Linked DNA regions of Homo sapiens: all the other regions are linked to region 1. The links are contacts of gene promoters, found by promoter capture Hi-C in blood cells and fetal thymus (Javierre and others, 2016). All regions are on one chromosome and are shown on one strand. The core of a region is centred on a gene start or on the middle of the fragment in contact, and the rest is flanking DNA. Distances in the headings are between cores, read along the strand shown. Region 1 holds the start of FTX (FTX transcript, XIST regulator). Region 2 overlaps XIST (X inactive specific transcript). Region 3 has its middle 9.1 kb from the start of XIST. Region 4 has its middle 35 kb from the start of JPX. Region 5 overlaps JPX (JPX transcript, XIST activator). Region 6 overlaps RLIM (ring finger protein, LIM domain interacting). Region 7 has its middle 48 kb from the start of RLIM.

Region 1 (3,943 bases), core at 624-3,123:
CCGTGCTGAAAGTTCTACAGAAGAAAAAATAAAGGAAAGGGTGAAAGCCCAGGTTACCTTCATACCACCACTGCCATTAACTACTTTTCAATCTTTCTCCACGACAGTATGAGTCCCAGGCAGCCATAGGTCCAAATTCCAGGTTTACGGCAAAGAGTAACAAGCATTTGGAAACACATCCAAATCCTCACGCCTATGTTCTCAGGGAAGAAAATCAAGAGCTTTCGGCCAACATTAACATTGGATTCTCACACTACAACCACAGTGTTTTGCTACTCTGATGGGGTGACTGTATTCAGAGCCAAGTACAGCGACCCAAGATCGGAAAGCCAGAGAGCCCTCCGAATGCGTACTGCCCAAATGTGGCCTGTCTCCAAGTGCTCCCTTTTTACGCATTTCCTACGCACCGCCAGCTGCCGCAACCTTTTGCAGAGTCATCATCGCCTCCTCATTTTTGTACCCACTTACCGATAGGCCACTGAGAGGCTAAGATTCTGGGTTAATTTCTAGTGGATCTGGCCACAGCATAGGAGAACTCCAACTCAGGTTGATCCCTTCACTCAGCTAAAAAGGTAGTTCTCTGCAAGGCCTGCTAGCCCAAGATGGCCAAGCAAAGACAGCTTACCTCCCCCCTCGCCATTTTGCAACCTTAATTACCCGAATGCTGAGCGCCTCCCCTCCCCGGCACTCCGTCTGAAATACGCATGCGCGCCGCTTCCTCCTTACCGTTCTCCCCAACCATCCAGATGTTGTCTCAAATATGCATGAGCGCCACCTCTACCTCCCAAACGCTGGTACCAACTCCTAGCAACTTTGCGTTGTTAAATATGCCTGCGAGTCCTTCACTTCCCGACCTTCCAACCCTCCAACCCCGACGCCATTCAAGCCTTGCGCATGCGTGCCTCCCTCTCCCCACCCCCGCCCCACTGGAGCCCGTCCCCTTAACTCAGGTCTTCTCAAATACTGTAAGCTTGAGCGCCGCCCCTCGGCGCCGCGCCTCCTCATCCAGCCTCTCAAATACCCTGCGCACCGCGATAGTCCTCTCTCTTCTTGCTCCCATTTGTATACAGTATGCATGCCTGATGCTATCTGGACGTGTTTCTCGCCACAATTCTGCCCCAGTGCCCAAGGAGAGCCATTACCAGCCTTCCCTAATGCGAGTAGATGCGATAAACTAGGGAAGTTGAATCGGGGAAAGAAGGCGTTGCAGGTGATCAGAGTGAATCCCAGATCTAGATGGAATCGGTCCCAACTCCAAGGGAGGGGGCTAGAGTACCCCAGGATTCACATAAGACCGGTCAACCTGAACAAAGGCAAGGAAAACTTTCACAAACCATCGGATGAACATAATCCTAAGGCCTCGCCCTTTAAATACATCTGCTACAAATGACGAACCACAAATGTTTTAAACAGGGAACATTATGGAAAACACCGATGCTCAGGTGCCTTGACTCTAGTTAGAGGAAAGGAACCCGCATTCCTTTCACAATGGGAAGCAAATGCTCAACATCCTTTTGGAAAACTGGGGCCTGTAACGTATTCCATTTTTTCCTCCCGTGAACTGGAAAAATGCACAAATTAAGGATCTTCCTGGCCCAAGTTCCCTCCGCCGCCCTCCATGTTCTGTTCTTCCCCTACATCGTTCCTTTACCTCCTGGTTGAATTCAGTGTCGTAGCAGGAATTCTTAGAGCTGGCCGTCCCAAGATGGGGTGGAGAGAGCGGCATGAAAGAGAGAGAGAGAGAGAGACACGCCTGAATGGCAGCAGCAGGCCTTAGCGGCAATGGACAGCAGGCACAGGACCAGCTTTGCCTCGAGCCGCAACGCTGATGCCAGAAAAGGACAACCTCTCCAGAATCGCCGCAGTGTGCTTCCAGCGCATGCGCTGCTAACGCCCCTTAACCCCCCCTCCGCGCCCCGCCTCCCCCACGCGCCGCTCTCCAGCCTCTAGGAGTCTAACCCTTAGCGGTCCACCGACCTCCTTCACTTCTTTCCCAGGACGCTATCCCACTCTGCTTCTTCCACCTTTCCCCTCCCCTCGGTCACACTGGCCTCCACCATCATCCCTCCCTCAGCCCATACTTCTTTCGTCAATCCCTCTCCCATTATTCTTAGCCCACCATCTACCTTTATTTCCTCTGCTATCGTTAGTGGTCTACCCTTCAATTCTTCACTTTCCCTGCCAGTCTGCAGCCCTCTTGGGCCTCTTACTCCTCTCCTCCTATGCCTGATGTTGAAATTTGTAAAAATTACCGCAAAAATTTTTTTTTAAATAATTGTAGCCCGGGCGCGGTGGCTCACACCTGTAATCCCAGCACTTTGGGAGGCCGAGGTGGACGGAACCCTTGAGTTCAGGAGTTCGAGACCAGCTCGGGTGACATGGCGAAACCCCGTCTCTACAAATAAATACAAAAATTAGCCGGGCGTGGTGGTGCGCACCTGTACTCCCAGCTATTCAGAAGGCTGAGGTGGAAGAATCACTCGAGCCCAGGAAGTCGAGGCTACAGTGAGCTATGATTGTGCCAGCTATGATGTTGCCAGCCTGGGCAACAGAGTGAGACCCCATCTCAAAAAAAGAAAAAAAATATTTCCACACATCCTCTCCAAAGCAGCTCTCAGGGTGAGCTCAACCAGCCTGTCTTGGGCAAAGAGAACACCTTTTTGATGATGACCCACAGGGAAGATCCAGAGACAGGGAACCAGAACAAAAACTGCAAAAGTGTTCAATCAATTTGGGGGTAAGAGGCAGTAGACCACCAACATGGAAAGCTCTTTTCTTTCTATTCACAACCCTGGTATTGTCTGGACATTAAAAATGAGATTCAATGTCCTTCACTGCTTACTACAAGGCCTGTTCTTGTCTTCTGTAAGAACTCAAATATTAATTTTGAGGGAAATGGCATTATTTACTTAAGAGGCTCTGAAATAGATCCCTCTTTGGGTGTGAACTAGAAAGAATACAAAATAATATTTTGTTTCTCTTTATTATGTTTTACTTTGGTGTCTGGTTCTTATTGCTTTCTAAAAGAGCCAGTTTGGAAATACCAAAAACTGAGACCCGCAAATTCATAAATCCTAAAACTCATAAACTTATACATCACCATCCTCTCAAATTAACTTAAGAATGTTATATCAACATTATTCAGAGAAAAATGGGTTTGCATTTGTTATATAATACGCCCAAAAAATTATACAACAATGTGCATATGAAGAAGAAAAAAGAGAAATAGGCATGCATTAAATAAAAAAGAAATGCCGAAATCTCAGTGGTACAAAGAACCTCTTCTAAATTAAAATAATCATTTATTATTACACAAAAGTTAAAATATAAGAAATTTTACCCCAAATTCTACAACACTATTTTAACAAATGCTCTTATCTCTGTTATTTTTCTGTTTTAATGGTTTTATTAATATATAATTTACATATCATACAGTTAACCAACTTAAAGTGTACAATGCAATGGATTTTAGTATATTCACAGAATTATGCAGCCACCACTACAATCAATTTTAGAATATTTTCATCACCCCAAAAAGAAACTTCATACCCATTAGTATTGTCTTAGTCCATTATGTACCACTGTAACAAAATACTGCAGACTCGGCAATTTATAAAGAACAGAAATTTATTTCCTCACAGTTCTGGAGAATGGGAAGTCCAAGACTGAGGAGCTGGCATCTGACAGTGGCTTTCCTGCTACATCATCCCATGGTGGAAGGGCAAAGAGATAGAGAAAGAGAGAGTGCGCGCAAGAGGGGGCCAGAACTCATCCTTTAATAAGGAACCCACTACTGAAATAACAAACCCACTCCCTCAATAATAGCATTAAGCTATTCATAAGAGTGGTGCCCCCATGACTCAAACACCTCCCTTTAAGCCTCACCTCCCAACACCACCACATGGGGCATCAAATTTCCAACATATGAACTTTGAGAGACATA
Region 2 (3,943 bases), core at 838-3,337, 450 kb before region 1:
GTAAAGGAGAGGCTTCTTTACCAAACTCATTTGTATAAGATGCAGAAGAAGCCCAAGCTCCATGTATCAGTACTCAATTTGGAAAGGTCAAGGAAGAGCTATCAAGTAAAGCCTAAGTCACCAACAAAAACATGACCAACTCGACAGCCTAATACACATATATATAGTGATATATAACTGTACATGGCCACTGAAGTTTAACTTGTTAAATTCAGCAGGCCAGCTATGTCTTAAATACATGAGCTCCAACTTGAGTTGGATTTTTGAAGGAAACCTGTGTAAAATGCTACTTGCCTACAGCCCAAAATATGGTAGTGAGAATATCAATTTTCTCCCAATCCAGTCTTTAAGACAAGGCAGAGGAAGGCATTAGCTCTGTTTAACTGACACATCATTACTCTTTGCCATCCAAACTGATAAGGTTTGGGGGAAGAGAAGAGGCATTAGCTCAGTTCAGATATAATCATTAGTTTCTTTCTCTTTAAGCTGGTAACGTATTTTTCCAGGATGCTTTCACATATAAGAATATTTTAGCAGTCAACAAAGGTCAACTCTTAATTCATTACTTTAAGACATGAACTCCCTTCAAGCTGTACATTTGATAATCAGGGCACAAACACCCTGAAAAGAAATTATGAATGCCTAATCACAGCAGCCCTGGGTCTCACAGTCTTCTGTAATTTAGGGAGGTGGCTAGAGAAATGGAAGTTACAGAAAGATAAAGCTGAAAGAGGATATGAGAAAATGGTCAGAAAACTTCCTCCAATCCTACATGTTAAGGTTTTATAAAGGGAAAAGTCAGAAAAGAAATGACAATAATCATTTAAAGAAATGCCAAAAAAGTTTCCTTCATTAGACTTTTGAAAATTTTCCAAATCACAAAATGTCATTTTCAGGGATTTAGGTATTTGATATAAGCCCCTATCTTATTTCACTAGCAGTCTCGAGATGGTCAGATTGATGGTGATCTGAACCAAACTCAGAGCCAGGACTAAAGTCTAAGCATTTCTGCCCAAAACCATAATGATTTCCTTCTGCATCCTCCATAAGAAAGCAAATTCCTTGATATAAATCCTGTCTTTGGTTTTGCTATTTATTCCAGCACCTGGTACAATAATATTTGTTGAACTAACACAAGAATTATCTCTATTTTGAAGATGCCCACATTTCCAGAGCATCCCTTTTTACAATTGCTAGAGATTTTTCTTAAGGGTGGAAATTATTTCAAGCAATGAATTTAAATACAGCTTCAAGATTCACCTTTGGATGCTATCTAGTATAATCAATCCACCTAAAATCAAGCCATCCTTCCTCTTGACTTAAGGTACAGAATCACCTCCAAATTCATTCATTTAAAACAAATTCCAATAATAATTATAATTGTATGTTGACAATGAATGACAATTTAATTACCAATAGAAGATTTCATAAGCATAGACCAGGGTTTCTCAAATTGGGGTGATAACCCTGGGGATTTGTGAATATATTCTAATGGATCCCCAAGTTCTACATAAGTTATATAAAACACATCTTTGACAAAGACAACGTGAAATTGGAAAACATATTTACATTTCAAATATCTTTGTTAAGTCAGTGTTCCTCAAAACACATTTTTTTAGGATCTCAGAAAATTTTGTTCCTTTAGAAGGTGTTTCATCATGAAGCATTACTTGGGTTTGAGAAACAATGGCACAGACCATGTTTCCAAGAAGGTTCAAGACCATGATGTATATAACCCTCAGTCAGCCAGACAATGTTGTTAAGCATATGGAGTGGGGCTGGGAGGCATGGAAACAAGCCCTGAGGAAATATGGATATGAATTAAAACGGGCTATAAGTGAAGCCAGTTCACTTATATGGTTCTTGTTGCTCCTGCTGTGATGCATGAATGTGCACCAGAAAAAAAGTTTCGAATGTTATGTTAAACAATATTTTGTCAGCTGGAAAACATTAAGGAGGCTAAGCTTCTTTTAGCTTTACGAAAGGTGGGAGGAAAGAAGGTATATAAACTACAGCATAAAGTAGGCAAGGAAGGTCAAGGTTTTGACTTCACTTCTCCACTACCCTCTTGGCAAAAAGGTTCCAAACTTAAAAAGTATCTACGATATGCATTATCCATGGTCATCTGTTCTTGGGCAGAAATGTAGTAAAATTGTGGAAGGAGCCGAAGTATTAGATTTATGCCCTCAATCTCTGAACTTTAAAATACTCAAGCTTATGAGATTTAGCAATCACTAATTTGCCAACCTTCGCAAATAGCCAAACACAATGGCTATGCTCTATCCCTTTCATCTCTTTCCATGGCTCCAAAAGAGGTAAAAAACAAATGAAATTAAAATAAACCAACTGGACTATCCAGATGGCTGCAATATTAATCCTATCTTGGCTTAAAGAGAAAAAGCAAACCCACTTCCTTAAGTTTATTCTATCAACTTCAAATCCTTGTGGGTTCCCTTCCTAAAACTACTACTTATGATTCACACAAAACAGCACTTATTATTTTCTAAAGTTATTTCAAATGTGCTCACATTAGCTCCTCAACGATAAAATCATCTCAGGAATGAAATTATATAGGATGATATCATTCCTACCCAGGTTATCAGTGTAACCTAGCATAGAGCTGGGTCCACAATATTAATTCTACAGTTCTGCTGGTTAACTCACATATGTGTATTTATGCATGTATGTATGTATCTATTTCTCTCTCTATATATATATATTGCAGATGAGGTGGGAAGAAGGAAAGAAACTTACTGGACCCTCTGACTTTTCTATAGGTGGCATCTAAGAGAAAGAAAATAGAATAGGAAAAAGATTACTTAATAGCTACGAAGTAGTACTTACAGTATTCTAAAGAGCCAGAGACTCTTCTTTACAGCTGTCCGAGGAGCTAGTAGGGCAAACTGCTCCCTGAGCTGGGCCGATCTTTTGACATCCTTCTCCGAGAAACAATATTCTTTTTCAGTTATTACAAAGAACTGCTGTTGTGATGACTAGTTATTTGCTTGAGCAGTTCCATATTACATAATCCTGTGCCACAAAACACCCTGTACACTAGTGGCTGGGATATTATTCATTTCCACTAGGCAGCTATCTCACTGTTGAAATTTATATCCAAAAGAATATTTAATTTTGGCTTATTTTTCTTATAAAATAGGGAACTCGTCTTATCATTTTTAAGTCCTCACCTCAGTGTGGTACTTCAAACTACTTCAAATTATTACTATAATTAAATGCTTCATTTTATATAATAATTAATAAAAAAGGTGGCATATGCTTTTTAAAAGCACCTCTGCATATGTTCCCTCATTTAATCGTTTTACTGCAATCTTCTTGAAATAAGTAGGGGCAGGTGCTCCAGATGAAGAAATTAAAGGATTATAAAATTTAGGTAGTTTTTCTAAAAGTGAATGCTGGTAAAGCCCACACAAAGATACTGGTCTTAAGAGTTCCACTCTAGAATATCTTTGATATTAAAATAGCAAGAGTCAGTGTTCTATCCACAGACCCACCACCCTCAGTTAAAATGAGAGACACTGGTCACCAGGTACATAGTATAAATGGATATTTTGGCTTCAAAAAAATAATGACCAGGTTATCGAGTCCACCCTACAATCCAGATGTCTTTCTTAAAAAAATTTTTTTAATAATAATAAGCAATTTTTCTGGCTGTATCCTGGCATTTGGCACTTTACAATAACAATATACAAAGGGGACAACAAGAGATTCTTAACCAGGCAATCTGCTCTGGAAAGAAGAATGCAGAGAAAGTGCCAACCTTCCTTCCTGGGGAGACAATTTTATAGTGTACACTGGAAACACAAAATAAAGGATGGCAATCCAGCTCCCTGGGTCTGACTTGCCTTCAGTATTTTGCACAGTAAAGCAGTAACACAGGTGGGCAAGAATGGTTCTTGTCCCCAGAATCTGACAATAATTGAAA
Region 3 (3,943 bases), core at 988-3,487, 430 kb before region 1:
AGCACTTAGAATATATCCTCACACTCTTTCCTGGCCCGTAAGGTTTCTGCTGAGAAATCTAATGGTAGCCATATTAAAGCTTCCTTGTATGTGATATGCTTCTTCTGCTGCTTTGAGAATTCTTTCTTAGTTTTTGAATTTTGATAGTTTGATTGTAATGTGTCTTGATGAACTCTTCTTTGGGTTGAATTTAATTGCATATTCCTGAGCTTCTTGTAATTCAATATTCTCTTTTCCCAGATGGGAACTTTTTGGCCATTATTTCTTTAAATAAGCTGTCTGCCTCTTTCTTGCACTCTTCACCATCTGTAGTTTTAGTATCCAAATAGTAGTTTTCTTGGTGGTGTCCCATAGACCTGTAGGCTTTCTTAATACTTTTTCATTTTTTTTCTTTTTCTTCTCTGACTGGATGATTTCCAATCATCTATATTTGCATTCAGTTATTTGTTATTCTGCTTGATGTAATCTGCTATTGAAGCATCTTTGGTATTTTTTACTTCAGTCATCATACTGTTCAGCTTGAAAATTTATCTGGTTCTTTTTTCAAGTTTTGAATCTCTGCTTACCTTCTTGTTTTGTTCATATTCTGTCTTCCTGATCTTTTAAAAATATTTGTTTTTTTGTAATTTGCTGAGCTTCTTTAGAACAATTATTTTGAATACTTTGTCAGGCAATTCATGTACCTCCAATTCTTCGTGGTCACACACTGGAAAGCTTCTTGTGTTTTTCTGGCAATATAATGTTTCCCTGATTCTTCCTCATCCTTGTAGTCCTGCAAAGGTGTCTGCACTTTTGAAGCAGCAGTCACCTCTTTCAGACATTATGGCCTGGCTTTGGCAAGGAAAGCCCTTTACCTAAGGAGGAAAAAGGGAGACATACTAGGTGCACTGTGGCACTGGGTCTAGACCATAGGAAACCAAATGCAGGGGCATAGTGTGGCTCTGGGTCTGGTGGTGTGGCGGCAGATAGGGGCCGAGTCTAGTCAGCTCAGGCATGCCTACAACATTGGCAACTGCATGGTCCTTTGTGTCAAGAGCTGTGGGAGTTTCGCAAAGATTATGAGGGCTGTTGGGGTCCTCAGCTATGTATATGTGACAAACAGCTAGGGTCTGGGACTGGCAGCAGTGGAGGCCAGAGCTGAAAGTGTACACATGCTCCACTGTGGAGTCTGGTTGCAGCAGCAGCCTGTTGTAGTCTCACACATGGTAGCAAGAGCTTGGGTCATATGCCGAAGCTGGGCCTGAATGTGAGCATAGATGTGGTGGTAGGTGCTGCAGGTTGCCCATGCCTGATCACAAGGGCCAGATGCATGGTGGCAACAGGGGTCAGGCTGTCTGCATGTGTGTGTTTGTGTGTGTGTGGCAACTGCAGGGCTCAACTGGAGGTGGGTAGGCATGTGCAGCATGGTGATAAATGCAGGACCCATGGGGCAGGACCAGTGGCTTATGCATGCACCACTACAGGAACCAGGGCTGGCAGCATGCAGTAGTCCTGCAGAGATCAGCCTTGAGTGTATGTGGGGTCAATTTCTGAGGTGAGGGGCTTTGGGGCTCTTTGCAGGCACAGGTGCAACAGCTGCACTGGGCCTCTGGGCCAGAGCACCCATGTAAGCAACATCAGGGGTGGCTTTGGAAAGGATGGTTGTCTTAGGCACCTGCGGTATATGAAGGCCACTGCAGTAGTACCCTGGGCTGGGACAACCACAACAGAAGCAGTTCAGGTGGCTTTGGGGAGGAGGGTGGTTGGTTAGGCACCTAAAGACTTCAAGGCTCCTGGGTTGTGTCACCAGGCTGAGGAAACTGCAGCAATAGCAATCCTGCCCTACATGGCTCCTGGGAATGGGGAGGGGAGGTAACGCCAGCACCTAAGACTATGAAGGTGAAGAAAACTGCAAGGCCTTCAGTAGCAAAAGTGGCAGGGGGGTTATTGCTGGTGTGCTGGCATTTGTTTTTCTCAGTAGTAAAAGCTGCTATGTTCCTCTGCAGGACAAGCTGCTGGGCTCCACAATTTCAAACACTGAGGAATCCTCAGCAGTTAAGGCTGTGGGGTCTACACAGCAGCTCCAGGGGCTGTTTGGGTCCTCAGTGGAGAAGTCTGCTGCTTTCCCATGTCAGGTAGGCCACTGGGGGTCACAGTAACTTCCACCTTTTGGCTGATTCTAAAAGAGCTCATCCAGGCCAGGCGCGGTGGCTCACCCCTGTAATCCCAGCACTTTGGGAGGCCGAGGCGGGTGGATCACCTGAGGTCAGGCGTTCGAGACCAGCCTGGCCAACATGGTGAAACCCTGTCTCTACCAAAAATACACAAATTAGCCAGGCATGGTGGTGGGCACCTGTAATCCCAGCTACTCAGGAGGCTGAGGCAGGAGAATCGCTTGAACCTAGGAGGTGGAGGTTGCAGTGAGCCGAGATGACGCCATTGCACTCCAGCCTAGGCGATAGACCAAGACTCCGTCTCAAAAAAAAAAAAAAAAAAAAAAAAAAACCCTCATCCCTTGTCTTTGTTCTCAGCTGTCTCCAGATATCTCAGCTATGCAGGTTACCCCCAGAGATCTGGGTGGGGTGAAACTGAAGCTAGTCATATAGGCAGTGTCCTAAAATACTGGCAAAACTGGTTCTATACCTTGCTCTGCTTTGTCTTGCAAGGCAAACTTAAGCTAGGGAGGTCCCTCTCCATGCTGAGCAGTGTCAGCATGAAGGATGCAGTGATGGAGGTGAAATGAACTTGTTCTTATTACCATTTTTGTGTGGCTCTTCTTGGGTTTTCTCTTCTACTGTATTGTTGTGTCACCTTAAGTGGATCCTAGCCTCTTCCAGAGATATTTTGGTTCATGGATAGTTGCAGAATTGTTCTTCACAGGGAGAGGAAGGCTGAATCTCCTACTCTGACATCATGCTGACCTCACTCCACTAGACAAGGAGTTTAAATTAAATATTTCAAATATGCTCAAAGACATAAAAGAAACAATAGACAAAGAACTAAAAAACACAGAGAGAATAATGTCTCAACAAACAGAAATTATACATTAGAAATAGCACTTATAAAAAGGAACCAAATAGAAATTCTGGAGCTGAAAATACAATAACTGAAACAAAAAAATTCATTCCAGGCATTCAACAGAAAATTTGAGCAGCCAATAGAAAGAAACAACTTGAATAGGTCAATTGAAATTATTCAGTCTAAGGGGCACAAATACAAATAATTAAGAGAAATGAAGAGAATGTGAGGGACCTATGGAACACCATCAAGATGCCAACACACACATTATGGAAGTTTCAGGAGGGGATAGAGTGAACTAGCATTAAAAAAAAGGGAGAAATAATGGTTAAAAAAACTTCCCAAATTTGATAAGACACATTAATCTACACATTAAAAAAACCTCAGTGAGCCAGGCCAACCCCAACAGCCCCAGGCTCCAGACCAGCTCACCACTAGGCCAGCCCCCACAGTCCCAATCTTCAGTTCTACCCCAGCAATCAGCTGTTCCCTGCAACTCTAGTCATTAGGCTGACACCCACAAACCCATCTCCAGGCCAGCCCCTGTGGTGCCAGGTTTCAGGCTTGCTCCAGCACCATGTCAGCAATGCTGGACTTAAACACCAGGCAGGCACCCACAGACACAGGCTCCAGGCCTGCCCAGCACCAGGCCAGTCCCCATGACCTCACACTCTAGCTGGACCCTGTGGCTTCATAGCTTCAGCAGACCCAGGGTCCAGGCCTGTCCCAGTAGACCCCTGTGCTGGATTTGCCACTACAGACACAAGCTTAAAGATTGCCCCAGTGTACTCAGGTCACAGGAACCCTCAAGTCATCCAAACCCAGGCCAGCCCTCACAGTCTTAGCCTCTAGGCCAGCACCTACACACCCAGCCTCCAGGCTGGGACAAGTGGACATGAGCTCTAGGCTGAGCCTGACAGCCCCGTGCTTAAGACCAGCCCCAGGA
Region 4 (3,943 bases), core at 699-3,198, 380 kb before region 1:
TTATCCAATCTACCATTGATGGGCACCTAGGTTGATCCCATGTCTTTGCTATTGTGAATAGTGCTGAGATAAACATATGAGTGCAGGTGTCTTTTTGGTAGATGATTTGTTTCCTTTGGGTATATACTCATTAATGGATTGCTGGCTCGAATGGTAGTCCTATTTTTTTCTACTTGGAGAAATCTCCAAAATACTTTCCACAGTGGCTAAACTAATTTACATCCCCACCAACAGTGTATAAGCACTCCCTTTCTCTACAACCTTTTTACTTTTTAATAATTAATAGCCATTCTGATTTGTGTGAGCTGGTATTTCATTGTCATTTTGATTTGTATCTCTCTGATGATTAGTGATGTTGAACTTTGTTGTTTTTTCTTTTTTAGACCGAGTCTTGCCCTGTCACCAGGCTGGAGTGCAGTGGTGCGATCTTGGCTCACTGCAACCTTTGCCTCCTGGGTTCAAGTGATTCTCCTGCCTCAGTCTCCCGAGTAGCAGAGACTACAGGCATGAGCCACTACACCCTGTTAATTTTTGTATTTTTAGTAGTGATGGGGTTTCACCATGTCGGCCAGGATGGACTGGATCTCTTGACCTCGTGATTCGCCCACCTTGGCCTCCCAAAGTTCTGGGATTACAGGCATGAGCCACCGCGCCTGGCCTGAACTTTTTTTAATATGTTTGCTGGCCACTTGAATGTATTCTTTTGAGAAGGGTCTGTTCATGTTTTTTGCCCACATTTTAATGGGGTTGTCTTTTACTTGTTGATTTAAGTTTCTTATAGATCCTGGATATTAGTCCTTTGCCAGAATCATAGTTTGTAAATATTTTATCCCATTTTTTCTGTTTACTCTGTTGGTAATTTATTTTGCTGTGCAGAAGCTCTTTAGTTTAATTAGGTCCCACTTGTTCAATTTTTGGTTTTATTGCATTTGTTTTTAAGAACCTAGTGATAATTTTTTTTTTTTTTTTGCCTAGACCAATATCAAAGAGAGTATTTCCTAGGTTTTCTTCCAGGATTTTTATAATTTTAGATCTTATATTGAAGTATTTAATCTATCTTGAGCTAATTTTCATACATGCTGATAGATAGGGGTCCAGTTTCAATCTTCTGCATATGGCTACCCAGTTTTTCCAACACCATTTATTGAATAGGGTGTCCTTTCCCCATTGTTTATACATGTTGAGTTTGTCAAAGATCAGTTGGTTGTAGCTATGTGACTTTATTTCCGGGTTCTCTATTATGTTCTATTGGTCCATGTGTCTATTTTCGTACCAGTACCATTTGTTTTTGGTTACTTGTAGTATTGTTTGAAGTTGGGTAGTGTGATCCCTCCAGCTTTATTCTTTTTATTTTATTTATTTATTTTTTTTGTGTGAGACGGAGTCTCACTCTGTCGCCCAGGCTGAAGGGCAGTGGCACGATCTCGGCTCACTGCAAGCTCCGCCTCCCTCCGGCTTTATTCTTTTTCATAGAATTGGCTTGGCTATTCCAGCTCTTTTTTGGTTCCATATGAATTTTAGAATAGGTTTTTCCTGATTCTGTAAAAACGACATTGGCTATTTGATAGGAATAGTGTTGAATCTCTATATTGCCTTGGGCAATATGGACATTTCAATGATACTAATTCCTCCAACCCATGAGCATGGAATACTTTTCCAATTGTCTGTGCTGTCTGTGATTATTTTCAGCAGTGTTTTGTAGTTCTTCTCATGGAGATCTTTCACTGCCTTCGTTAGGTGTATTCCTATGTATTGTTGTATATGTGTGTGTGCCTATTGTAAATGGGATTGCATTCTTGATTTGTTTCTGAGCTTAAACATTATTGGTATATAGAAATGCTATAGATTTTTGTACATTGATTTTGTATCCTGAGACTTTACAGAAGTCATTTATCAGGCCTAGGAGTTTTTGGGGGGAATATTTAGGATTTTCTAGGTATAGAATTATATCATTAGCAAAGAGATAATTTGAATTTGACTTCCTCTTTTTTTATTTAGACACCTTTTATTTCTTTTCTTTTTTTTTTTTTTTGCTGAGACAGAGTCTGGCTGTCTCCCAGGCTAGAGTGCAGTGGCATGATCTCTGCTCACTGCAAGCTCCACCTCCCGGGTTTATGCCATTCTCCTGTCTCAGTCTCCCGAGTAGCTGGGACAACAGGCACCTGCCACCACACCCAGCTAATTTTTTGTATTTTTAGTAGAGGCGGGGTTTCACTGTGTTAGCTAGGATGGTCTCCATCTCCTGACCTCTTGATCCACCCGCCTCGGCCTCCCAAAGTGCTGGGATTACAGGCGTGAGCCACCACGCCTGGCTGACACCTTTTATTTCTTTCTCTTGCCTGATTCCTCTGGCTAGGACTTATAGTACTATGTTGAATAGGTGTGGCAAGAGTGTGCATCCTTGTCTTGTTCCAGTTCTTAGAGGTAATGCTTCCAACTTTTGCCTATTCAGCATGATGTTGGCTGTGGGTTTGTCATAGATGGCTCCTATTATTTTGAGATACGGTCTTTTAATGACTGGTTTGTTGAGGGTTTTTATTATTAAGGAATGTTGAATTTTATCAAATGCTTTTTCTGTGTCTGTTGAAAGGATCATATGGTTTTCGTTTTAAATTTTGTTTATGTGGTGAAGCACATTTGTTAATTTGCATATGCTGAACCATTCTTGCATCCAAGGAATAAAGCCCACTTGATCATGGTGAATTAACTTTTTGATTTGGTTTGGTAGTGTTTTTTGAGGATTTTTGCATCTGTGTTTATTGGGGATATTGGCCTGTAGTTTTCTTCTTTTGTTATGTCTTTGTCAGATTCACGTCTATGCTTTTACATGCAATGTAATCCCTTCCATTTCAATCAAATGTAATCCCTTCCATTTCAATCAAAAGACCAATTCAAGTCTTACTTCCTCCTTTTAGCAGTCTCTGATAACCACATCATACGTGATTGTTCCTTTCTCTCAACTCTTCTAGCATTTTGACTACTAGGATGCTTACAGTGCTGTATCTTTGAGAGCAGAGGCTATAGCTTATTCTTACATGAATATGTCATTGGCTCCAGTCCCAGTGCTTGGCACAGAGCAGACACTCTTTAATAAAGAAATGAATTTTATTCAGCTTTTTTCCCATCTTATTTCTTACCAGAAATACAAATTGTATGAGTTTCAGAAAAATGGTATTTCGGTCAAAGTGACAGGCTCACTAAAAGACAATAATGCATTTCATTGAAAAGCAGGATATATTTTTTATTTAATGACTCTTCCTCTGACATCTACTTGTGACAGAAAATGTTAAAATTTAGTACCCAAACACTACCCTACACACATGCATGCATATACACACATTTATGGGAATTTAGCTGTTACCATGCTAGAGAATGATATTGGGTGGGTTTTTTTTGGGTGGGGGGGACTTTTCTTTGTTTTTGAGACAGGGTCTTACTCTTTCACTCAGACTGGAGTGCAGTGGCACAATCACGGCTCATTGCAGCCTCAACCTCCTGGGCTCAAGCCATCTTCCCACTTCAGCCTCTCAAGTAGCTGGGACTACAAGTGCACGCCACCCTGCCTAGCTAATTTTTGTAATTTTTGTAGAGATGGGACTTCACCATGTTGCTCAGGCTGGTCTCAAACTCCTGGGCTCAAGCAATCCACCCACCTTAGCTTCCCAAAGTGCTGGGATTGTAGGCATGAGCCACTGTGCCTGGCTAGAGATATTAACATGCTATCTTTTTTTCTCTCTCTCTTTTTCTCTTTTGAGACAGAGTTTCACTGTTGTTGTCCATGCTGGAGTGCAATGGCGTGATCTCGGCTCACCGCAACCTCTGCCTCCCAGGTTCAAGCAATTCTCTTGCCTTAGCCTCCCGAGTAGCTGGGATTACAGGCATGTGCCACCACGCCCAGCTAATTTTGTATTTTTAGTAGAGACAGGGTTTCTCCACATTGGTC
Region 5 (3,943 bases), core at 735-3,234, 310 kb before region 1:
CTCCTTGTTTGTCTGTCCTCACTCTCTCACTCCAATAGGAAAGAGCCTGTCTCCTAACATTTACCATTCATTTACATAATTGTACTATCCCATTATACAGGTATAACTGTTTCAGAATTGTTGATTTTTACCCTTACTGGAAACAACTCTATCAACTGGAGTATAATGCTTATGTATAGCTTCTTTTGCATTTAGTCTTACAGACTCCACTTATTAATGGTGAGAGACTGGACATACTGCTCAGATCGGGAACAATGCAAAGATGTCCTCTCTCACCACTCCTAATACAAGAAAAGGAAATATAGACTGGAAGGGAAAAAATAAATCTTTATTTGTAGATTATAAGATTGTCTACATAGACGTTTTTAGAGCATCTCCAGAAACCTAGAACTAACAAATGGGAGTAAGAAGGACACAAGGTATTACAGTTACTTTTCATTTTCTGTTAGTTTTGGCATCTCATATTTAAGTCTGGTTTTCAAGATTGCATTCTTTTCAGATGGTATTTTTTTCTTTGTTTTTGTATACATTATAATGTTGAGAGTCAAACATATAAAGTAGTAGATACTGAGGTATATATATGTATTTTCTTTGCGATAAGCACACCTTTCCTTCATCTAGGCTATTAGCGTGGAGGTTTTTGTGAAATTAGTCAGGAGTTGGTCTGGGATTGAAGTTTTGTTGTTACCATGGTTACTCTCTGTGTATCAGAAACTTCAAACCCTATAATGATACCTTGTTTTTGTGTCCTTGTTTGGCGTGGGTTTTCACCTTTTCACTCTTCTCTAGAGAAGGCCTGTGGTTTTCAGCTTTCCCCTGTGCATTACTTTAATTTTATTTGATGTTTAGTCTGTGGTTGGGGCGAAAAAGAGGCATGTTCTCTAATGTTCTAATTTAAACTCAGTCTTAAGTAGGCACTGTGAATCTGGGTCTTGTGGGTGTGGCTGTCATAAGTCTTTCTTTTCCAGTCAATGCCTAGTATTTATTCCCATTCCTCCCCTATGGCTAAAGCTTTATGTGTTCCTTACCTCCTTACCCAGCCCCTGTTGCTTCCACTCCAGGGTGTCCCTGCAAATTGCTCTAAGGTTTTTGCTTCTTAGGCGAGATAGGAGACGGGCCTCTGGGGAATTTTGGTCTGCTTTATATTCCCTTCCACTGCTTCATGATCTTTTCTGTAAATGAAGAACTTTTTTTGGTGGGGCGTGGTGGTTCACGCCTGTAATCCCATCACTTTGGGAGGCCGAGGCGGGCGGATCACCTGAGGTCAGGAGTTTGAGACCAGCCTGACCAACATGGAGAAACCCTGTCTCTACTTAAAATACAAAATTAGCTGGGTGTGGTGGTGCATGCCTGTAATCCCAGCTACTCAGAAGGCTGAGGCAGGAGAGTCACTTGAACCCGGGAGGTGGAGGTTGCGGTGAGCCGAGATCGCGCCATTGCACTCCAGCCTGGGCAACAAGAGCGAAACTTTTTTTTTTTTTAAGAAAGGTAGATTGGGGCAGATTTTCAGCCATAGCTGCTACTCCTTTCCCCCAGATAGTACCAAAGGGGTCTTTCTCTGTGATCTCTGATCTTTCCTGTGGCTTCCTATTGATAACAGCTGCAGGTGGCTGCAACCCCACCCCCATATTTGAAACCTGAGGGGATTCCTATTCTCAGGCCAGCCCACACTTGGCCTTTAGCAATTTATTGTAATTTCTAGTTAAATCTTTCTACCTGCTTTTATATTGATTTTCATGGCATTTGTCCCAGTAATCAAATGCTCAGATTCTGTTTTCCCCTGCAGGCACCTACCATTTTTTTAGATTTCTGTATTTTTTTTTTTCCTGTAACTTCAGTTCTCTGATAGGGTCAAGAAAATCATAACTTTGCTTTTGTCAAGCCTTTTCTAAGTGAGGTAGTGATGTTGTTTCTAGTGCCCTATATATTTGAGATTTGTTGTCTTTGTTATTTTTGTTTATTTCTGTTTCTTATTTTTTCTTCTGTATCATTTGAACATTTTTTAGTATTTTATTTTATTTATTTATTTTTTTTTGAGATGGAGTTTCGCTCTTGTCGCCCAGGCTGGAATGCAGTGGTGTGATCCCAGCTCACTGCAACCTCCGCCTCCCGGGTTCAAGCGATTCTCCTGCCTCAGACTCCCAAGTAGCTGGGGTTACAGGTGCCCGCCACTATGCCTGGCTCATTATTTTTATGTTCAGTAGAGACGGGGTTTCACCATGTTGGTCAGGCTTGTTTTGAACTCCTGACCTCAGGTGATCCACCTGCCTTGGCCTCCCAAAGTGCTGGGATTACAGGCGTGAGCCACCGCGCCCAGGCTTTAATATTCCATTTTAATTATCTTTATTTATTTATTTATTTTGAGACAGAGTCTCGCTCTGTTGCTCAGGCTGGAGTGCAAATGGCACAATCTCAGCTCACTGCAACCCCCGCCTCCTGGGTTCAAGCACTTCTTCTGCCTCAGGCTCATGAGTAGCTGAGACTAACTACAGGTGCATGCCATCACGCCCAGCTAATTTTTGTATTTTCAGTAGAGGCAGGGTTTTGCTATGTTGGCCAGGGTAGTCTCGAACTCCTGACCTCAGGTAATCTGCCTGCCTCGGCCTCCCAAAGTGCTGGGATTATAGGCATGAGCCACCGTGCCCGGTCTTAATTATCTTTTATACATTCGAATTGTCTCATAAATACATATCTAACAGTTTATGTAGATTCAGTGTTTTACCACTTCAGGTAAAACATAGAAGCCTTACATCCATATAAAGCTCTTTATACTCCCTCACTGATTCTTTAAGTAGTTGCCATGTGTTTTACATTTGCATTGTGTTTCTGCTTTCAGGAGTCATACATATTTTAAAGAACTTAAGAGGAGAAAAATAGTCTTTTATATTTACTCAGTAATTTACCACTTCTTTTTTTTTTTTTTAAACCAGTTCTTTGTTCTCTCATTTTTAAAGATCTAAGCTTTCCCTGGGTATCATTTCCCTTCAGACTAAAGAACTCCCTTTATCATTTAATCAGCACTCTGCTTGAGGTGAATTGTCTTAATTTCCCTTCATCTAGGAATGTGTTCATTTCACCTTCATTCCTGAAAGACATTTTCAATCACTGGATATAGAATTGTTAATTGATGGGATTTTTTTCTTGTTGCTCTTTAAAGTTATTTTTCTACTACTGTCCTTCATCGTTTCTGATAAAAAATTTGCCGTCGTTTGAATCATTGCTTCCTCAGATGTAATGTGCTGTTTTTTTAATAGCTGCTTTCAAATTTTTTCCTTTGTCTTTGATTTTCAACAGTTTATAGTATTTCTGGGTGTGTCTTTTCAGTTTATATTGTTTGGTTTTGCTGAAGTTGTTTAATATGTAGATTTATCTTTTATCAGATTGGGAAGTTTTTGGCTGTTATTTCTACAAACTTTTTTTCTGCATGATTTTTTTTTCTCATTCTGAGACTATGATGACATGTATATTAGATATTGTGATATTGTTCCATAGGTCCTGAGGTGCTGTTTGTTCTGTTTCAATCTATTTTTTATTTATTTATTTATTTTATTATTTTTTTTGAGACGGAGTCTTGCTCTGTCGCCCAGGCTGGAGTGCAGTGGCATGATCTCAGCTTACTGCAAGCTCCGCCTCTCGGGTTCACGCCATTCTCCTGCCTCAGCCTCCCAAGTAGCTGGGAGTACAGGCACCTGCCACCATGCCCAGCTAATTTTTTTGTATTTTTAGTAGAGACGGGGTTTCACCATGTTAGCCAGGATGGTCTTGATCTCCTGACCTCGTGATCCGCCCGCCTCAGCCTCCCAAAGTGCTGGGATTACAGGCTTGAGCCACCGCGCCTGGCTCAATCTATTTTTTAATTCTATTTTTCAGATTGGGTAATTTCTGTTGATCTGTCTTCAAATTCTGTTTCATGTTCCTGGCTGCATTCTGTTATTGAGATCTT
Region 6 (3,943 bases), core at 420-2,919, 290 kb after region 1:
AGTCTCTCCCGAAGGTCAGGAAGCCCTGGTATAACAATCACTTTAGTCTTTACAGAACATACATCTATGTGCTTTGTGACCAAAGACATAAAGGCAGCCTTTGTTACTGTTCCCCCTCCAAACCCCTTCAGGTTCTTATAAGCTTCAGAAAGCTTTCCAAGATTGCTGCCCTGTTCTTTGTATGAATCCAAGTAAACAACTATACCAAAGCAGCTCTTCCTGGGAGAAGATAAAACAGGCACAGATACATCACCAGGCCAACTGCGTACCTACTCAACTTGATACCTGATCACATGGCCCTACATCCTTAAAAGCAGCACCAGGGACAAATGGAGCTATCAAGAGGTAAAATCCAAACACTGGACAGTTAAAACACATACAAACCAGTTAAAAGAACATTAGTAATGGGGCACTAAATAGAGTTAAGGCTGGACAGCTGGTTCAACCATACCTTGGTATTGAAATAATTCTGCAAGATGAGGAACTTACAGAGGAACCTTGAAAGAGGCACCATGATATGACAGGGTTCACTTTCACTGCATGTCTTTAAGATATCTACTACTCAGCCCAACTGACCATAAAGCAGCTCGTGGAACTTTAATAAACAAATCCTAATAAAAATAAATAATTTTTAGAATGTTGGAGGGTATGCCTATTTCCTTCAGATCTGATCAAGACATGAGAATTATAAAACCGATACAAACTGTTCTGTGATTATCACTTGACAGTTCTAACACTGTTATACAGCTCAATTCTATGCTGCAGCCTTTAAGATACAAACTGGGGTTACATGAGATCACTCACTTGTTAGAGAAGTATCAGATAAATTTTAGAACTGTTCCAGTTAAGGAAAATAATTCTTAATTTCATAATCCTAAAACTTTTTCTAAAAATTTTTGCAGGGCAGGTACTTAACTCATAGCTGTTTTAGTTGATTAAAAAATCTGATTTAAAAATAAGTAAGGCTGGGCGCAGTGGCTCACGCCTATAATCCCAGCACTTTGGGAGAATGAGGCAGGCAAATTGCCTGAGCCCAGGAGTTCAAGAACAGCCTGGACAACATGGCGAAACCCCATCTCCACAAAAAATTAGCCAGGCAATGTGGTGCATGCCTGTAGTCCCAGCTACTTGGAAGGCTGAGGTGGGAGAATCACCTGAGCCCAGGAAGTCAAGGCTGCAGTGAGCTGTGACCATGCCACTGCACTCCAGCCTGGGTGACAGAGCAAGACCCTGTCTCAAAAAGTAAAAAATAAAATAAAATAAAAATAAATAAGTGACATACTAGTTCCTCGGATCTTTTACTTTTTTCCAAATGAAGTATGCTGTCAATTTACATTTTTCATGTTTTTTCAAAAGCACACAATTTACTAGTTAACTCAATGAATTACAATACTGTTATTGAATATAAACATACTGAAGAATTAAAGGGAAAAAAACACACCTGACACTTTAACATGTGCCTTAACAATCTTGCATACTAAGGTACAGAATACTTCAGAAAGTAACAATTAGCATAGTCTTATAAGACTAGGAGAATAAAAGTGCCCTGCAAACATGGCTTCTATGTACTTAATATGGTAAAACATGTGACAGGGAAGCCTGTAAGGTAAAACTTAAAAAAAAAATCAAATAAGGCAGATTATAATTTTTTTTGTTCGCAAAAGAACAAAGGAGAAAAGGGGAAGAATAAAAACATTCTCCATCTTTAAAAGAAAAAATATTAACAACCATAAGGTGCCACTGTATTTTAGCAAGCTGTAAAAATGGCCTTTTAAGAGGAATTTTGCAATCTTTACCTCCCTATCATTTGGGTATTTTGGGAACTGACCGAAAGTCATGGCTGATGCTTCACCCATTTCATGTCATGGACGCCTGGGAAGCAGGTAGTTAAATACAAAGCATATTATGTGATAACCCTTCATAAATATAATTTGAGACACTGACACTAGGAGAGGATACTTGGCACAGAAAAGACATGTTATGGGGCGGGGGACACATTACTTGAGGCAACACTTACAGCCAATCAGTTTCCTAATCTTAAGGTTTGGATGAATTCCAATCGTTTTTAAAAACTGTGTGTGTACACACACATATTTTATTTCCTGGTGCTAAAGGTCTTATAAACTGTACAATTACCTACATTCCAACACTAATGTGAACACTTTTCTCAATCCCCACCTCCATTAACACCATTAAGGTGTAACTAACATGTTCTTTTCAGAGCAAATATTCCAAATTAACAAGGTGGCTCATCTTCTATAGTGTTGATACAAAGTCAGCAAACTTTTAACTTAACTTGCTCAATTTTGTTTCTAATAGTACTAATAAACCTCAACTTTGGCTGGACATGGTGGCTCACGCCTGTAATCCCAGCATTTTCGGAGGCCGAGGCAGGCACATCACTTGAGGTCAGGAGTTCAAGACCAGCCTGGCCAACACGGTGAAGTCCCCATCTCTACTAAAAATATAAAAACTAGCCAGGTGTGGTGGCATGCGCCTGTAATCCCAGCTACTCGAGAGGCTGAGACAGGAGAATTGCTTGAACCCAGGAGGCAGAGGTTGCAGTGAGCCGAGATCGCTCCATTGCACTTCATCCTGGGCAACCAAGTAAGACTCTGTCTCAAAAAAACAAAACAAAACAAAACAAAACAAAAAAACCTCAACTTTGTCAGCTGCTCAGAGTTAAAACAATTCAAATGTTTCAGACTAGAAGTGAGTTTTTAAAAACATCTGAAATATTCAAGAAAATTTGGGTTTTGGTACTTTTCCTTATGCTCTGAACAATGTGAACTCCCAACATTGTTTATCCTTGTTCCTCTTACTGCATGAAGTTCAAACTAGGTCTTAAAGACAACTTTTCTGTACTTAAGAAAAAGTGCAAAGATAGAAAATGAAATGTAAGGTGTTTTGCAAGAAATGCTCCCTCGAGAATGGTGTTTGGATGTGGGTGGGGGGAAAACGATTTTTGTTCTCCATTGTAATCTGACACCTACGAATGACCTTGTCTTCAATGTCCACAACACTAGTAAGCATGTAATAATCACGGACATCGCAAGATTAAAAATTAAGTAGCAAATTCCACTAAAACACTTGTATTCATTCTATACAATCGAATGGAAATCCGTGAGTGCTACTGAAAAAGGTGTTCACATGCACATGTCCAATATGTGCATTCCACTGAAGGCTAAAAGCTTAAAATTCTATTTCCAGTGTTTATGAATAGCTTCAATATCTACATTCATAGCCAGCATTCTGCTTGAGTTACCTCTTACTTTAATACTTCACAAATGAGTAAGTACGTCTTGGGAGATTAGGAAGGTACCTGTTGTCAATAACTTTCTCTTATGCTTAGAATGTGCTGCAATTGTTTTTAAACTATTTAAAATGAACACCCCTATAATAATGAAACACTTTATGCCAAGAAGAAAATTGATTTGTTTTTAGCCAATCAAGACTACCCTGCAGATCTGAAAACTGTAGATTACATCCTTAGGAAAGGAGAAAAGGAGGCTCACAAATATAAAGGAATCCTGACTTTTACACGGACAAATTTTTAAAAAGATAAAATGTATTACATAAGCGCCATAAACAGTGAAATCTGCTTATATTAAAAAAAATAAGTGAAGCTTTGTTTGGACATTATTTCCTTGCAAGAGCAGTACATATCCTTAGTAAACAACTACCATATTTACAAGTTAATTTCCTTGATACTTAGATAGGATTGAAAGCCAGAAGAAATCATGGAAGAGTGAGCTTTGAAATAATCTTTACAGCTAAGTTGGTAACAGTGAAGGTACCCAGACAATTCCTAAAGCAGACTTGTTTATTTTGTAGAGTATTTGACTACGTCTGGGTAGCTAGCTTGCTTTGATAAAGGCCAAGGACAAGTTCAATCCCTATTTTGGCCTGTTAAAGCTTTTCCCAGAAGAACAAATATCTGCTC
Region 7 (3,943 bases), core at 433-2,932, 270 kb after region 1:
CAAATAGACATTTCTCAAAAGAAGACATACCAATGGCAAACAGGCATATGAGAAGGTGCTCAACATCACTGATCATGAGAGACATGCAAATCAAAGGTACAATGAGGTATCATCTCACCCCAGTTAAAATGACTTTTATCCAAAAGACAGGTAACAACAAATGCTAGAGAGGATGTGGAGAAAAGGGAACTCTCATAAACTGTTGGTGGGACTGTAAATTAATATAATCACTATGGAGAACAGTTTGGATGTTCCTCAAAAAACGTTAAAATCGAGCTACCGTATGATCCAGCAATCCCACTGCTGGGAATTTACCCAAAAGAAAAGAAATCAGTGTATTGAAGAGATATCTACATGCCCATATTTGTTGCAGTACTGTTCACAATAGCTTAGATTTGGAAGCAACCTAAGTGTCCATCAACACATGAATGAATAAAGAAATGTGGTATATATACAGAATGGAGCACTATTCAGCCTTAAAACAATGAAATCTAGTCATTTGCAACAATATGGATGGAACTGGAGATCATTATGTTAAGTTAAATAAGCCAGGCACATAAGACAAACATCTCATGTTCTAACATATTTGTGGGATCCAAAAATCAAAACAATCGAAGTCATGGAGATAGAGAGTAAAAGCGTGGTTATCAGAGACTGGGAAGGGTAGTGGGGATGTTTAATGAGTACAAAAAAAAAAAAAAACCAGAAAGTATGAATAAGACCTAGTATTTGATAGTACAACACAACGGGGTTACTATTGTCAAAATAATTTAATTGTACATTTTACAAGGACTAAAAGAGTATGACTGGATTGTTTGAAACACAAGGATAAATGCTTGAGAGCATGGATACCCCATTTTCCATGATGTGATTATTATGTATTGCATGGCTGTATCAAAATATCTTGTGTACCCCACAAATACATAGATCTAATATATTCCCTCATAAGTTAAAAATAAAATTTAAAAAGTTCCCTGAAAAGGAAGCTTCTCCAAAAGAAAAACCTATGTGGAGCCAGTCATTCAGTCATCAGAAAATTTAATCAAATGTTCAAAGAAGAATTAACGGCAATTTTATATAATCCCTTCCAGAAAACATAAAAGTAGGAAATCACTTCCCAACTGATTTTATGAGGTCAGTATTACCTTGATACTAAAACCAAACAAAGACAGTACAAAAAAAGAAAGGACCATAGACCAATATACCTTATGAATACAGATGTAAAATTCTTCAGAAAATATTAGCAAACCAAATCCAATAATGTATAAAAAGAATTACACACCATGACCAATTGGAATTTATTATAAATATGCAAGGCTGGCTTAATATTTGAAGCTCACTCAATGTAATAAGCCATATCAACAAATTAAGAATCCTATGATCTTTTTTCAATTATATGATCCTACCAATTGGTGCAGAAGAAGCATTTGACCAAATCCAACACCTATTCATGATTTAAAAAAAACAACAACCAAACAACTTGCAGCAAGTTAGGAATGAAGGGGGACTACTTCAACATGATAAAGAGCATCTACAAATACAAATCCACTCTCACCACTCTTATTTACACAGTATTGGAAGTTCTAGCCAAAACAAGAAGGCAAGGAATATAAATAAGTTGTATATAGATTGGAAAGGAGTAAATAAAACTATTTGGCAGTGACATGATGGTCTATATAGAAAATGCCCAGAAATATAACAAAACCTTACAGAACTAATAAGTTCAGCCTCAGTATACAATATCAACACACCAACATACAAAAATCAATCATATTTCTATAAACTATCAATGAATATGCAGAAACTGAAGTTGAAAATGCAACAGCATTTCTAATCACTACAACGAAAATGAAATACTTAGATGCACACTTAACAAAATGTACAGTGGATCTCTGCTGAAAATTTCAAAATACTGATGAAAGAAATCAAGGAAGACATAAATAACTGGAAAGATATTCTGTGTTCATAGACTGGAAGACTCAACAAAGATATCAATTTGGAAAAAACTGACATACGCTATCAAAATACTAGCATTATATTTTTTTGGTAAGCATAAATGAGATTATTCTAAAATTTATATGGAAAGGTAACAATACTAGAATAGTTACATTGATTTTGCAGAAGAATAAAGTGGGAGGAATCAATCCATCTGATTTTTTTTTTCTTTTTAGAGACAAAGTCTTGCCATGTTGCCCAGGTTGGCCTTGAACTCCTGGGCTCAAGGGATCCTCTTGCCTCAGCCTCCCAAATAGCTGGGATCACAGGCATTCAACACTGTGCCCAGCTCCATCTGATTTTAAGAATTATTATTGTTATAGTAATTAAGACTGTGTGGTATTAGTAGAGGAATAGATATATAGAACAATGGAATAGAATAGAGAAGCTTGACATAGTATGGCACACAATTATGACCAACTGATGTTTCACAAATGTGCAAAATCAATTTGATTGAGAAATGATAAACTTTTCAACAAATGGTGCTGGAGTAATTGGCTATCCATAGGCAAAAAGACACAAAAATAAATTCAAAATGGATCATAGACTTAAATGTAAAATGTAAAACTACAACACTTTTAAAAGAAAACAGGAGAAAATCTTCAGGACCTAGAGCTTGGAGCAGAGTTTCTTAGACATGACACCAAAAGCACAATTCACAGTAAAAATAATAAACTGGACTTCACCAAAAGTAAAAACTTTTGTTTTGCAAAGCAATTTGTTTTTTTTTTTTGTTTTTTTTTTTATTTTTTTTATTTTTTTTATTTTTATTTTTATTTTTATTTTTTTTATTGATCATTCTTGGGTGTTTCTCGCAGAGGGGGATTTGGCAGGGTCATAGGACAATAGTGGAGGGAAGGTCAGCAGATAAACAAGTGAACAAAGGTCTCTGGTTTTCCTAGGCAGAGGACCCTGAGGCCTTCCGCAGTGTTTGTGTCCCTGGGTACTTGAGATTAGGGAGTGGTGATGACTCTTAACGAGCGTGCTGCCTTCAAGCATCTGTTTAACAAAGCACATCTTGCACCGCCCTTAATCCATTTAACCCTGAGTGGACACAGCACATGTTTCAGAGAGCACAGGGTTGGGGGTAAGGTCACAGATCAACAGGATCCCAAGGCAGAAGAATTTTTCTTAGTACAGAACAAAATGAAAAGTCTCCCATGTCTACTTCTTTCTACACAGACCCGGCAACCATCCCATTTCTCAATCTTTTCCCCACCTTTCCCCCCTTTCTATTCCACAAAACTGCCACTGTCATCATGGCCCGTTCTCAATGAGCTGTTGGGTACACCTCCCAGACGGGGTGGTGGCCGGGCAGAGGGGCTCCTCACTTCCCAGTAGTGGCGGCCGGGCAGAGGCGCCCCTCACCTCCCGGACGGGGTGGCTGGCCGGGCGAGGGGCTGACCCCCCCCACCTCCCTCCCGGACGGGGCGGCTGGCCGGGCAGAGGAGCTCCTCACTTCCCAGTAGGGGCGGCCAGGCAGAGGCGCCCCTCACCTCCCGGACGGGGCGGCTGGCCGGGAGGGGGGCTGACCCCCCCACCTCTCTCCCGGACCGGGCGGCTGGCCGGGCGGGGGGCTGACCCCCTCACCTCCCTCCCGGACGGGGCGGCTGGCCTGGCGGGGGCTGACCCCCACCTCCCTCCCGGACGGGGTGGCTGCCGGGCAGAGACGATCCTCACTTCCCAGACGGGGTGGCTGCTGGGCGGAGGGGCTCCTCACTTCTCAGACGGGGCGGTTGCCAGGCAGAGGGTCTCCTCACTTCTCAGATAGGGCAGCCGGGTGGAGACGCTCCTCACTTCTCAGACGGGGCGGCTGCTGGGTGGAGGGGCTCCTCACTTCTCAGACGGGGCGGTTGCCAGGCAGAGGGTCTCCTCACTTCTCAGATAGGGCAGCCGGGTGGAGACGCTCCTCACTTCTCAGACGGGGCGGCTGCTGGGTGGAGGGGCT

What was found. The method cuts DNA at HindIII sites, captures the fragments that hold promoters and counts their contacts. A CHiCAGO score of 5 or more calls a contact.
Region 2: a contact is called between a fragment that was not itself captured here and the fragment with the promoter of FTX in region 1, in 1 of 17 cell types (M2 macrophages). The highest score is 5.8, in M2 macrophages.
Region 3: a contact is called between a fragment that was not itself captured here and the fragment with the promoter of FTX in region 1, in 2 of 17 cell types (neutrophils and activated CD4 T cells). The highest score is 5.9, in neutrophils.
Region 4: a fragment that was not itself captured here is called in contact with the fragment with the promoter of FTX in region 1 in 1 of 17 cell types (neutrophils); the score reaches 5.5 in neutrophils.
Region 5: a fragment that was not itself captured here is called in contact with the fragment with the promoter of FTX in region 1 in 7 of 17 cell types (naive CD8 T cells, total CD8 T cells, naive CD4 T cells and 4 more); the score reaches 12.6 in naive CD8 T cells.
Region 6: a contact is called between a fragment that was not itself captured here and the fragment with the promoter of FTX in region 1, in 1 of 17 cell types (neutrophils). The highest score is 6.0, in neutrophils.
Region 7: a contact is called between a fragment that was not itself captured here and the fragment with the promoter of FTX in region 1, in 3 of 17 cell types (monocytes, M2 macrophages and M0 macrophages). The highest score is 9.8, in monocytes.

Annotation. Positions count from the first base shown.
Region 1 is chrX:74,291,701-74,295,643 of GRCh38, forward strand. FTX (FTX transcript, XIST regulator) reads right to left here and starts at 1,874. Exons shown (of 7, transcript NR_028379.1): 1 at 1,652-1,874. It overlaps LOC124905199 (a long non-coding RNA gene), which reads right to left and starts at 896. Exons shown (of 2, transcript XR_007068266.1): 1 at 58-896. RefSeq lists an enhancer at 338-1,128. The HindIII fragment of the contact is 8,135 bases long and covers 969-3,943 here.
Region 2 is chrX:73,838,538-73,842,480 of GRCh38, forward strand. XIST (X inactive specific transcript) reads right to left here. Exons shown (of 6, transcript NR_001564.3): 1 at 2,845-3,943. Among named protein-coding and RNA genes, the nearest start is that of XIST, 12 kb to the right of the region's middle. The HindIII fragment of the contact is 250 bases long and covers 1,963-2,212 here.
Region 3 is chrX:73,859,830-73,863,772 of GRCh38, forward strand. No RefSeq gene overlaps it. Among named protein-coding and RNA genes, the nearest start is that of XIST, 9.1 kb to the left of the region's middle. RefSeq lists an enhancer at 3,801-3,943. The HindIII fragment of the contact is 3,050 bases long and covers 713-3,762 here.
Region 4 is chrX:73,907,292-73,911,234 of GRCh38, forward strand. No RefSeq gene overlaps it. Among named protein-coding and RNA genes, the nearest start is that of JPX, 35 kb to the right of the region's middle. The HindIII fragment of the contact is 9,060 bases long and covers 1-3,943 here.
Region 5 is chrX:73,976,925-73,980,867 of GRCh38, forward strand. All of the region lies in intron 2 of JPX (JPX transcript, XIST activator), which reads left to right. Among named protein-coding and RNA genes, the nearest start is that of JPX, 35 kb to the left of the region's middle. RefSeq lists an enhancer at 666-1,225. The HindIII fragment of the contact is 1,950 bases long and covers 1,010-2,959 here.
Region 6 is chrX:74,585,849-74,589,791 of GRCh38, forward strand. RLIM (ring finger protein, LIM domain interacting) reads right to left here. Exons shown (of 4, transcript NM_016120.4): 4 at 1-3,943. Among named protein-coding and RNA genes, the nearest start is that of RLIM, 27 kb to the right of the region's middle. The HindIII fragment of the contact is 3,039 bases long and covers 151-3,189 here.
Region 7 is chrX:74,565,142-74,569,084 of GRCh38, forward strand. No RefSeq gene overlaps it. Among named protein-coding and RNA genes, the nearest start is that of RLIM, 48 kb to the right of the region's middle. RefSeq lists an enhancer at 2,693-3,673. The HindIII fragment of the contact is 1,397 bases long and covers 985-2,381 here.